Linked DNA regions of Homo sapiens: all the other regions are linked to region 1. Evidence: promoter capture Hi-C in human tissues and cell types (Jung and others, 2019). All regions are on one chromosome and are shown on one strand. Each heading gives the region's core, a stretch centred on a gene start or on the middle of the fragment in contact. The rest is flanking DNA. Distances are from core to core; before and after follow the strand shown.

Region 1 (2,829 bases), core at 215-2,714:
GGCCTCCCAAAGTGCTGGGATTACAGGTGTGAGCCATTGTGCCCGGCCGTTGTGTATTTTAAACATTGTGCACTGACCACTGGCTCCTCTCTCCTCACCTTACAGATTGACCTCAGCCAGCCTCTCCCATCCTCACCACTTCCCATCACAAGTTAGGTCACCGTCTCAGCACAGTCCTGAGCCAGGCCTGCCTGAGCCCTGACTGCCCCTTCCTCTGGCTCTCACCTGTATTTGCTGTGAAGATTAACCACAAACACGATCAGGTCAATTCGGGGCCGATTCACACTGGAGGGCAAAGGGAGGGACTTTGCCAAGTGGCTGAAAAACAGGAAATTGCAGGACTCAAGATATCCGTACCCCCCTCATAGCGACCGTTTAAATGCTGCCCTTCATGTGGAAAGAGGCCGTCAAGGGCTCCCCACCTCATCCTAGCCACCCGAGGCTCTTGTGGCCACGACTCCTTGGGCCAGCACAGAGGCAGGACAGGTCCGGTCCTATTCAGATTACTCCTGTCTGATTCCCTCTGCCAGAAACGGGCTCTGTTTAGTCACCACCTCGGCAAGGGGAGGTTGGGATATAAGACGGCATGGGACTAGCCAGCTACGCTGCATGCTGGGAGAAGGACCAGCCTCAGAGGAGGGGGCGCTGGGCTTCGGAGTTTAGCAGCTAGGACCGAATCCCTCTGGAGTGAGAGACACGTGGGCCCAGGCCACAGCCGCGGCTACTTACACCTTCAGCTCGGAGGCGCAGTCCTCTTTGAGCATCGAGTCCGCCAGCTGCTGCAGAAGAGCATCCTCCGTGCCCACCAGCTGCGCAGGGAGAGAGAGCGGACAGTCGAGCCCTAGGCACAGCACCCCCTGGGGAGGGCCTGGCCCTTCGACCCACTCCCGGGGGGATCGGGACACCGCCAGCAGGCGGCTCGGAGGACATTTCCCGAGAAGTGGACCCCGCGAAGCGGCACGGGCTGGGGGCCTGAGGTTTGGACCCGCTGCAGGCCTGTGGGCACCGCACTCTCTACTACCCGACCCTCGCTCCCACCGCCGGCCTCTCCAGGAGGCCAGACCCCCAGACGCGGGAAAACCAATTCCAGGCGCGGGAACTCGCCAATCAGAAGCTGGGAAAGGGTCCGCCGAGCACCTATTGGTGGGTGCGTCCCTCAACCTCAGAGAGCGGCTACTCCAATTGGTTCAGAGCATGGCTCTCCGCCTATTCCCCGCCCCCGCCACGGTAGCGCGCGCTGGCTTGGCGCCTCAGAGAGCTCAGTTGACCTAGTGGCTGAAGCACCGCCCAGGAGGAAAAACCGGCGGGGGAAGCAGGGCCGCCTGCACCTACCAAGATGGTGGCCGTGTTCAGGCCGGGCAGCTTGTCCAGGGGCCTCAACACCGACATCACAGCCGCAGGACCAACCGTTGCTCCTGCGGTGCGCGCCGATCTTTCAAACCGCCCTGAGTCCAGCCCCTAGAGCGCGGCCTGGGGGCACGTGCCTCCTTATAGGCGGGGCTTCGCGGGACGGGACGGGGCCTCTTAAAGGAACCGAACCTTTATCTCCTTTTCTGAGGGGCGTTCCAGCGCTACCCGTGGAACACGTGGTGGACAGGCCTTTGGTTCCACGCTCCACAGTAAGCAGGTTTTTAGTGATTCCTTTGTTCACTTTCATTCATTCATGCTCATACACAGTACTTTTTTTTTTTTTTTTTGAGACAGAGTCTCGCTTTGTGGCCCAGGCTGGAGTGCAATGCGCGCAATCTCGGCTCACTGCAACTTCTGCCTCCCGAGTTTAAGCGATTCTCCTGCCTCAGCCTCCCAAGGAGCTGGGACTACGGGCGCGCGTCACCACGCCCGACTTATTTTTTTATTTTTAGTAGAGACGGGGTTTCTCCAAGTTGCCCAGGCCGGTCTCAAACTCCTGGCCTCAAGTGATCCCGCCTCGGCCTCCCAAAGTGAGTGCTGAGATTACAGACGTGAGCCACCGTGCCTGGCCCTTTTTTTTTTTTTTTTTTTGGAGCGTCACTTTGTTGCCCAGGCTGGACTATAGTGACACGATCATAGCTCACTACAGCTTCAAACTCCTGGGCTCAAGTCATCTTCCTGGCTTAGCCTCCTGAGTAGCTGGAACTACAGGCAAGTGCCACCATGGGGATCTGGCCATGTTGCCCAGGTGGGTCGTAAACTCCTGGCCTCAAGCAGCCCTCCTGCTTCAGCCTCCTGAGTAGCTGGGACTACCGCTGCACACCAGCAGGCCCTGCCAATTGACTGCTTTTACAGTGAGTGGTAAGCATGCTGTTCTTTGTCCAATGGGAGACTTTACCTCATCTTTCAAGGTTCCTTGCTGCAAACACAGCCTGAGTACAGAGCTGTCAGGGTCTTGCTTTCTTGACATACCCAGCAAGAACATGCAGGGACGCTCAGGGCCCATAGCAAACTGGTTCTGCCAACAGTTATATAATAACTTGTTCACTGTCTCTACATCTAAAATGTAAGAAACAAGAGGTTAGAGACTTTGTCACTTTGTATGTCCAGCACTCTAAAAGTCCCTGGTACATCGTAGTTAATAAATATTTGTTGAGTGAATGGATGGATTACATTCATCCATTCATTCTCAGCAGTCATTCATTCATCATTTCCTATGCCCAGACCCAATGCCCTACCCTAGGAAGTCAGTTGAATCAGACATTATTGATTAACTTAGTTTGATGGGGGTGGGATAGACAATGATAACAGTGTGTTCATTGTTGTAATAACTGGGAGAGCAGAGACACTGTCTAGCCTAAATCCTTCTTACTGCAGACTAAACTAACTGTGTCTTGCTCAGAAAGATCAGGACGTAAA
Region 2 (2,829 bases), core at 177-2,676, 410 kb after region 1:
CTCATTTGTCCTCCATGGTGCCAACAGTTAAAATCAGCACAGCTTGGTCATTCTTCAGCTCAGAAACCTTTGATTGCTCCCTACTGCTCTCTGAACAAAGTCCAGATGCTCCAGCCAGGCCCATGAGACCCTCCAGGGCCAGTCCACTTGGCTTTGCAGCCTCCCCTGCGCCCGCCCGGTTCCTTCACTCCCATCCCATCCCGCACACTCTTCTCTGCTCTGTGCCCTTGCTCCTGCCACACTTCCCACCCCAGATGCCCTGCCCCTAGCTCCCTTCCCCAGTGGGCCTCAGCAGCAGGGGGTCGCCACTCTAGTAGTCTTTGCTGGAACCCAAACCAGGGGATGTGGCTGGACCAGGAATTTTTTCTTTTAGTTCATTTAATTAAAAAAAATTTAAAAAAAAACACTTTTTAGAGACAGGTTCTCTCTCTGTTGCCCAGGCTGGAGTGCAGCGGTGCAATCATAGCTCACTGCAACCTCAAACTCCTGGGCTCAAGGGATTCTCCCACCTTAGCCTCCTGAATAGCTGGGACTACAGGTGCACACCACCACACCTGGCTAATTTTTAAATTTTTTGTAGAGACGGGCTCTCCGTATGTCACCCAGGCTGGTCTTGAACTCCTGAGCTCAAGTGATCCTCCCGCCTCAGCCTCCCAAAGTGATGGGATTACAGGGATGAGCCACTGTGGTTGGCCAGTTTTTTTTGATAGTGACTTTATTTTAAATGACATAGAAATATGTAACAATCATAGTGGGACATGGTGGTGCACACCTGTAGTCCCAGCTATTAAGGAGGCTGAGGTGGGAGGATCCCGTGAGCCCAGGAGTTCAAGGCTGCAGTGAGCTGTGATCACACCACTGCGCTTCAACCTGGGTGACAGAGTGAGACCCTGTTTCTTAAAACAATTTTATTTAATAATTTTAAAAAAAGACCTTAAATCAGAAAGATTGTATTGTGCACCCGGTTGAGAAGTTGTCCCAGGCTCAGACACACAATGTCAAAGTCCTGGAGAACAGGGACCCTGTCTGTCATGTTCACGGATGTGGCCCCAGCACCTGGGATCTCTTGTCTGGGTGCCAAGGTGGGGTTGGGGGAAGGGTGAGAAGAGGGATGGGCATGGAGAGTAGGGAAGGAAGGAGGGAGGACAGGAAGGAGGGTGGGAGATATCTGGGGGTGAGTGGGTGGGTGGGGGGATTCATACCAGCCCATGGGCCACTTTTTTTTTTTTTTTTGAGAAAGAATGTCTCTCTGTTGCCCAGGCTGGAGTGCAGTGGTACGATCTCAGCTCACTGCAATCTCCGTCTCCTAGATTCAAGCGATTCTCCTGACTGCCTCAGCCTCCCAAGTAGCTGGGATTACAGGTGCCTGCCACTACACCTGCCTAATTTTTGTATTTTTAGTAGAGACAGGGTTTCACCATGTTGGCCAGGCTGGTCTCGAACTCCTGACCTGAAGTGATCCGCCGGCCTCGGCCTCTTAAAGTGCTGGGATTACAGGCATCAGCCACCTCGCCCAGCCACCCATGGGCCACTTTAGGCCCAGCCCCTAGTCCAGAGCTCAGAGAGGCCAGGATGGGATCCACATAGTCCCATGAACTGCCGGGGTGCAGAGGTCCCCAGCTCTCCGAACCACAGGGTTGCCAAGCTGGAACCCCCACTTGGCCATGGGCATCTGACCATTTGGCATCCTTGTCCTCCAGCCTCCCTAAGGGCCTCAGCTGAGCCTGTAGGCCCGGCTGGCCTTCCAGCCAAATTGACCAGATCTCTCGGGAATCATCCTTGACGCCTCTGCTCACTCCCTCTCTCCTGCATCCAATCCATCAGCAAATCCTGTTAGATTCTTTTCAGAGCCTCCTCTCTGTCTCCCTGTCCTGCCCTGGCCCCTCCCCCAGTCTATTCCCAACTCAGCAGCCAGAGGGATCCTTTTAAATGGTGCGTCCAGGAGGCCTCACCATCTGGCCCCCATTTCCTCTCTGAGCTCATCTGCCACCTCCTCCCCGCCACTTCCCTGCAGCCACATTGGCTCCTGTTACTCCCCGACTGTGCCAGGCACGCTCCCCACTCAGGGCCTTTGCTCTCTGCCTGGAAGGAATGCTCTTCCCCCAGAGCTACCTTCTCACCTCCTCACCCGCTTCCTGTCTTTGCTCAGATGCCACTTTCTCAATGAGACCTTCCATGGACACCTATTTATAATTGAAAAAAACAAATGTATCCCCTTTCTGCCCTTCCCTGTTTTATTTTTCTCCTTAGCACTTAGCATTCTTGATCACAATACCTGTTGCTTCCTTATTATGTTTTTTGTCTGTTTCTGTCCATTGGAATGTGATCTACAGCGGGGCAGGGGTGTTGTCTGTTTTGTCCACTGTTGTGTCCCCTGCACAGAGCATGGGGCCTATAGGGCTCACATTAGATGCTCCAAAGACATGTGCAATATGAATGAATGAGTGAATGAATAAATGAACCTCAGCCGGGTGCAGTGGCTCACACCTATAATCCCAGCACTTTGGGAGGCTGAGGTAGACAGATCACGAGGTCGGGAGTTTGAGACCAGCCTGGCAAACATGGTGAAACCCCATCTCTACTAAAAATACAAAAATTAGCTGGGCGTGGTGGCACATGCCTGTAATCCCAGTTACTTGGGAGGCTGAGGCACAAGAATTGCTTGAACCCGGGAGGCGGAGGTTGCAGTGAGCCGAGATAGTGCCACTGCACTCCAGCCTGGGTGACTGAGTGAGACTCCATCTCAAAATAAATAAATAAATTAATAAATAAAATAACAAAAACAAAAAAACAAATCTCTCTGAGGTCCAGGCTTGTTCCTCCTGGCCT
Region 3 (2,829 bases), core at 171-2,670, 330 kb before region 1:
TAGATGATTTTGATGTGAAGCCAAATATAGAAACAACTCATGGACCCACGGTTGTGAGATTAAGTTCAATTCACTACGACATATTAGAAACTCAAGGACATTGAAGGATGCCCTCAAAAGTAGCCTCCCTTACTTGATCTCTGCCCCCTCGTCTCACAGAGATGAACTAAATCATTCGCCAGTGTCTCCACAGAAGCCAGGAAAAACTAGCCATTCAAATGGATGCTGTCAAAGCTTCAATTTTCAATAATTGGAATTCTTTCCTGCTCATTGTTACCCGAAATTACAAACCTGACAATTCCTGTGTTACACAAGACATTCCTGTATTTAAGTTGAAATAAGGTGTGATCGTCACTGAATGAGGGCTGGTTTTTCTCCTGCCAGTTAAGTAGTTTAATGGAGCACAACCGAAATACTTTCTTTACTAATCCTTATTCACACAGCCTCATCCAAACTTCCCCCAAAACTGCTTTCTTGCCATTTGAGCAAAAGCAATTAACTTAGAAACTGTGGGGAGAAGACTGCTTGGTGAATTCTGGAGTTCGGGGCTCCTCTTATCCTGACTTGACCTACCTGGGGGCGATGGCTGGGTCCCTAGGCAGCTCTATCTCCCCCATCCCACCTATCCCTGGGACTGCAAAGGGAGCTTCCTTTTGGCACTGAGACAAGGTTCTCCGAGAGCCACCCGACCTCCGCAGTGTCTCTGTCACCACGAGGGGCACCGCGCGGCAGGCATCCTCACCTTTCCTACACCGCGCCAAGGAGGCAGGAGTGCACTGGGCTACCCGAGCGAGGCAGAGAACCCGCCGGGATCCAGCGCTGGTTTACCCCACACCCTCGTCGAAGGGGCTCTCGAGGGCTCGGTTTCTGCCCAAGCCCCCTGCAAGGTGGAGGCATGACTCCTCCATCCCTTCCCCTTGAATTCAAACGTGAGGATGGTATCTGCGAGGCTAAAGCGGGGCTCAGATGGCCCAAACTTCAGACCACTCTCTTCTCCACTCGGCTTTTCTTCCATCCTCCTGGCCATGTGTCTCCCCGTGAGTCGTGGCCCAAGTCTCCCCACCTCGGCCAGCCGCCACCCTCTGGCCTGGCTCCCGCCCTCCTGCCCACCTGGCCCCTTCCCCCTCACCCAGCATGATGGGGCTGAGCCGCCGGGCCAGGCCTTTGGACAGGTCGTACACGTAGAGCTTCACCGGATAGAGATTCGGCGGCTCCATTGGGACCCGTGGCGACGGCGGCCACGACGGCCCTCGGGCACCCGGCAGCGGCTTGGACCTTCCCGTACCCGACGGGAGTGCGAAGCGGAGGGAGAGGGGGGGACCGAGCCCGGGCCCGGGCTGAGGGGTGGGGGAGAGGCCGCCCTGCGCTGCTCGCGCCCCCACACCCGCTACCGGCAACGACTACTGTGAGGTGACAGAGAGGGGACAGGGAGGGCCCACACGGAAGAGGGGGCGGGGGCAGGGATGCACTTTTGCGCATGTGCTTACAGTCCTGACGTAGGAAGGGGCGGGGCTTTGCCGAAGGGGGCGGGGCTCTCGCTGATGGGTTGGCTTTCGTCAGGGACATAGGTAGAAGCTGGTTGGGGAGTGTGCGTGCCAGCCTGACGCGATATAGTGCGCACATGCGTGATGACGTAGAGGGCGTTGATTGGGACCGAGTACAGGGCCCGCGCATGCGTGGATTGTCGTCTTCTGTCCAAGTTGGTCGCTTCCCTGCGCCAAAGGTAAGCGGGCCGTTATCCATTTGTGTTGTTCGCCAGCTAGGCCTGGCCTCGTCCCGCTTCGCTCGGTCGGTCTCGCGCGCCCCCATAGCCTTGCTAGAGGGTTAGCGTTAGCCTTAAGTGTGCGAATCCGAGGAGCAGCGACAGACTCGAGACCACGCTCCTTCCTCGGGAAGGAGGCGGCACCTCGCGTTTGAGGCCCGCCTGCGTTTGAGGCCCGCCTGCGCTTGCGGCCCGCCTGCGCTTGAGGCCTGTCTGCGTTTGAGATCTCATTGGGCGTGATTGAGGAATTTGGGGAGGTTTTTGGGCGGTATTGAGGACGAGGGGGTCCGTTAGTCAGCATAGAATCCTGGAGCGGGAATCCCTCACCGTCTAAATGGCGTCGGGGGCGGGACCTCCGGGATCTGGCTTCCGCGGGCCGCCGCCGGCCCTGAAACGTGAGGGATAGCTGAGATGAGGCAGCTACTGGGATGGCCCCCATGCGCATTTACATGCAGTCCGACTGCCGAGCTTTCGAGGCAGCAGGATTTACCGTCCACATTCCTCACTACTAACCAAGCTTTTAGAACAGATCTCACAAGAACCTAGAGGTCGGTATTTTTTCGATTTAAATTTGCCTGTTACTGACGTTAACGTCTTTCGCCTAGTGAGCAGTAGCCAACATGTCAGGGTGGGAGTCATATTACAAAACCGAGGGCGATGAAGAAGCAGAGGAAGAACAAGAAGAGAACCTTGAAGCAAGTGGTAAGTGACTTCAGCATGTAGTGCCATTCGGTGTGTGGAAGAAAGACCTTCCCTGCCTATCTCTGCTGGATGGACTTTGCTGTTTGATGGCCTGCCCTTCTCCTCCCAGATAATTCTGAAATTCTTTTCTTCCTTTGAACTTCGCAGAGCTACCCTAGGCTCTTATATGCAGATCTTACTCTAGTGTGCCCTAAGTTTTTTTTGGACACTGGTAGTTTGACATCTTTTGGTCCCTGATAAATGGCCATGACCATAGGTATTTTTTGTCATCTTAAGTGGTTCAGGTGAGACCCTTCTCATCCAGGAAAGTAGTGTTACCATTCCAGGACCTCAGTGTAAAAATGCCCCCACCCTGCAATAACTAC

What was found. The method cuts DNA at HindIII sites, captures the fragments that hold promoters and counts their contacts. A contact is called where the count stands out against the background at its distance.
Region 2: a contact is called between a fragment that was not itself captured here and the fragment with the promoter of CENPM in region 1, in 1 of the 25 tissues and cell types used here (lymphoblastoid cells).
Region 3: the fragment with the promoter of DESI1 here is called in contact with the fragment with the promoter of CENPM in region 1 in 1 of the 25 tissues and cell types used here (dorsolateral prefrontal cortex).

Annotation. Positions count from the first base shown.
Region 1 is chr22:41,945,688-41,948,516 of GRCh38, forward strand. CENPM (centromere protein M) reads right to left here and starts at 1,465. Exons shown (of 6, transcript NM_024053.5): 1 at 1,333-1,465; 2 at 730-809; 3 at 226-318. The coding sequence starts at 1,389. It also overlaps a transcript of SMIM45 not described here. RefSeq lists an enhancer at 1,269-1,478. The HindIII fragment of the contact is 14,723 bases long and covers 1-2,829 here.
Region 2 is chr22:42,352,278-42,355,106 of GRCh38, forward strand. No RefSeq gene overlaps it. Among named protein-coding and RNA genes, the nearest start is that of LINC01315, 16 kb to the right of the region's middle. The HindIII fragment of the contact is 5,752 bases long and covers 1-2,829 here.
Region 3 is chr22:41,619,623-41,622,451 of GRCh38, forward strand. It overlaps DESI1 (desumoylating isopeptidase 1), which reads right to left and starts at 1,421. Exons shown (of 6, transcript NM_015704.3): 1 at 1,130-1,421. The coding sequence starts at 1,217. It overlaps XRCC6 (X-ray repair cross complementing 6), which reads left to right and starts at 1,673. Exons shown (of 13, transcript NM_001469.5): 1 at 1,673-1,723; 2 at 2,368-2,464. The coding sequence starts at 2,383. RefSeq lists an enhancer at 839-1,440 and a silencer at 1,172-1,441. The HindIII fragment of the contact is 13,467 bases long and covers 1-2,829 here.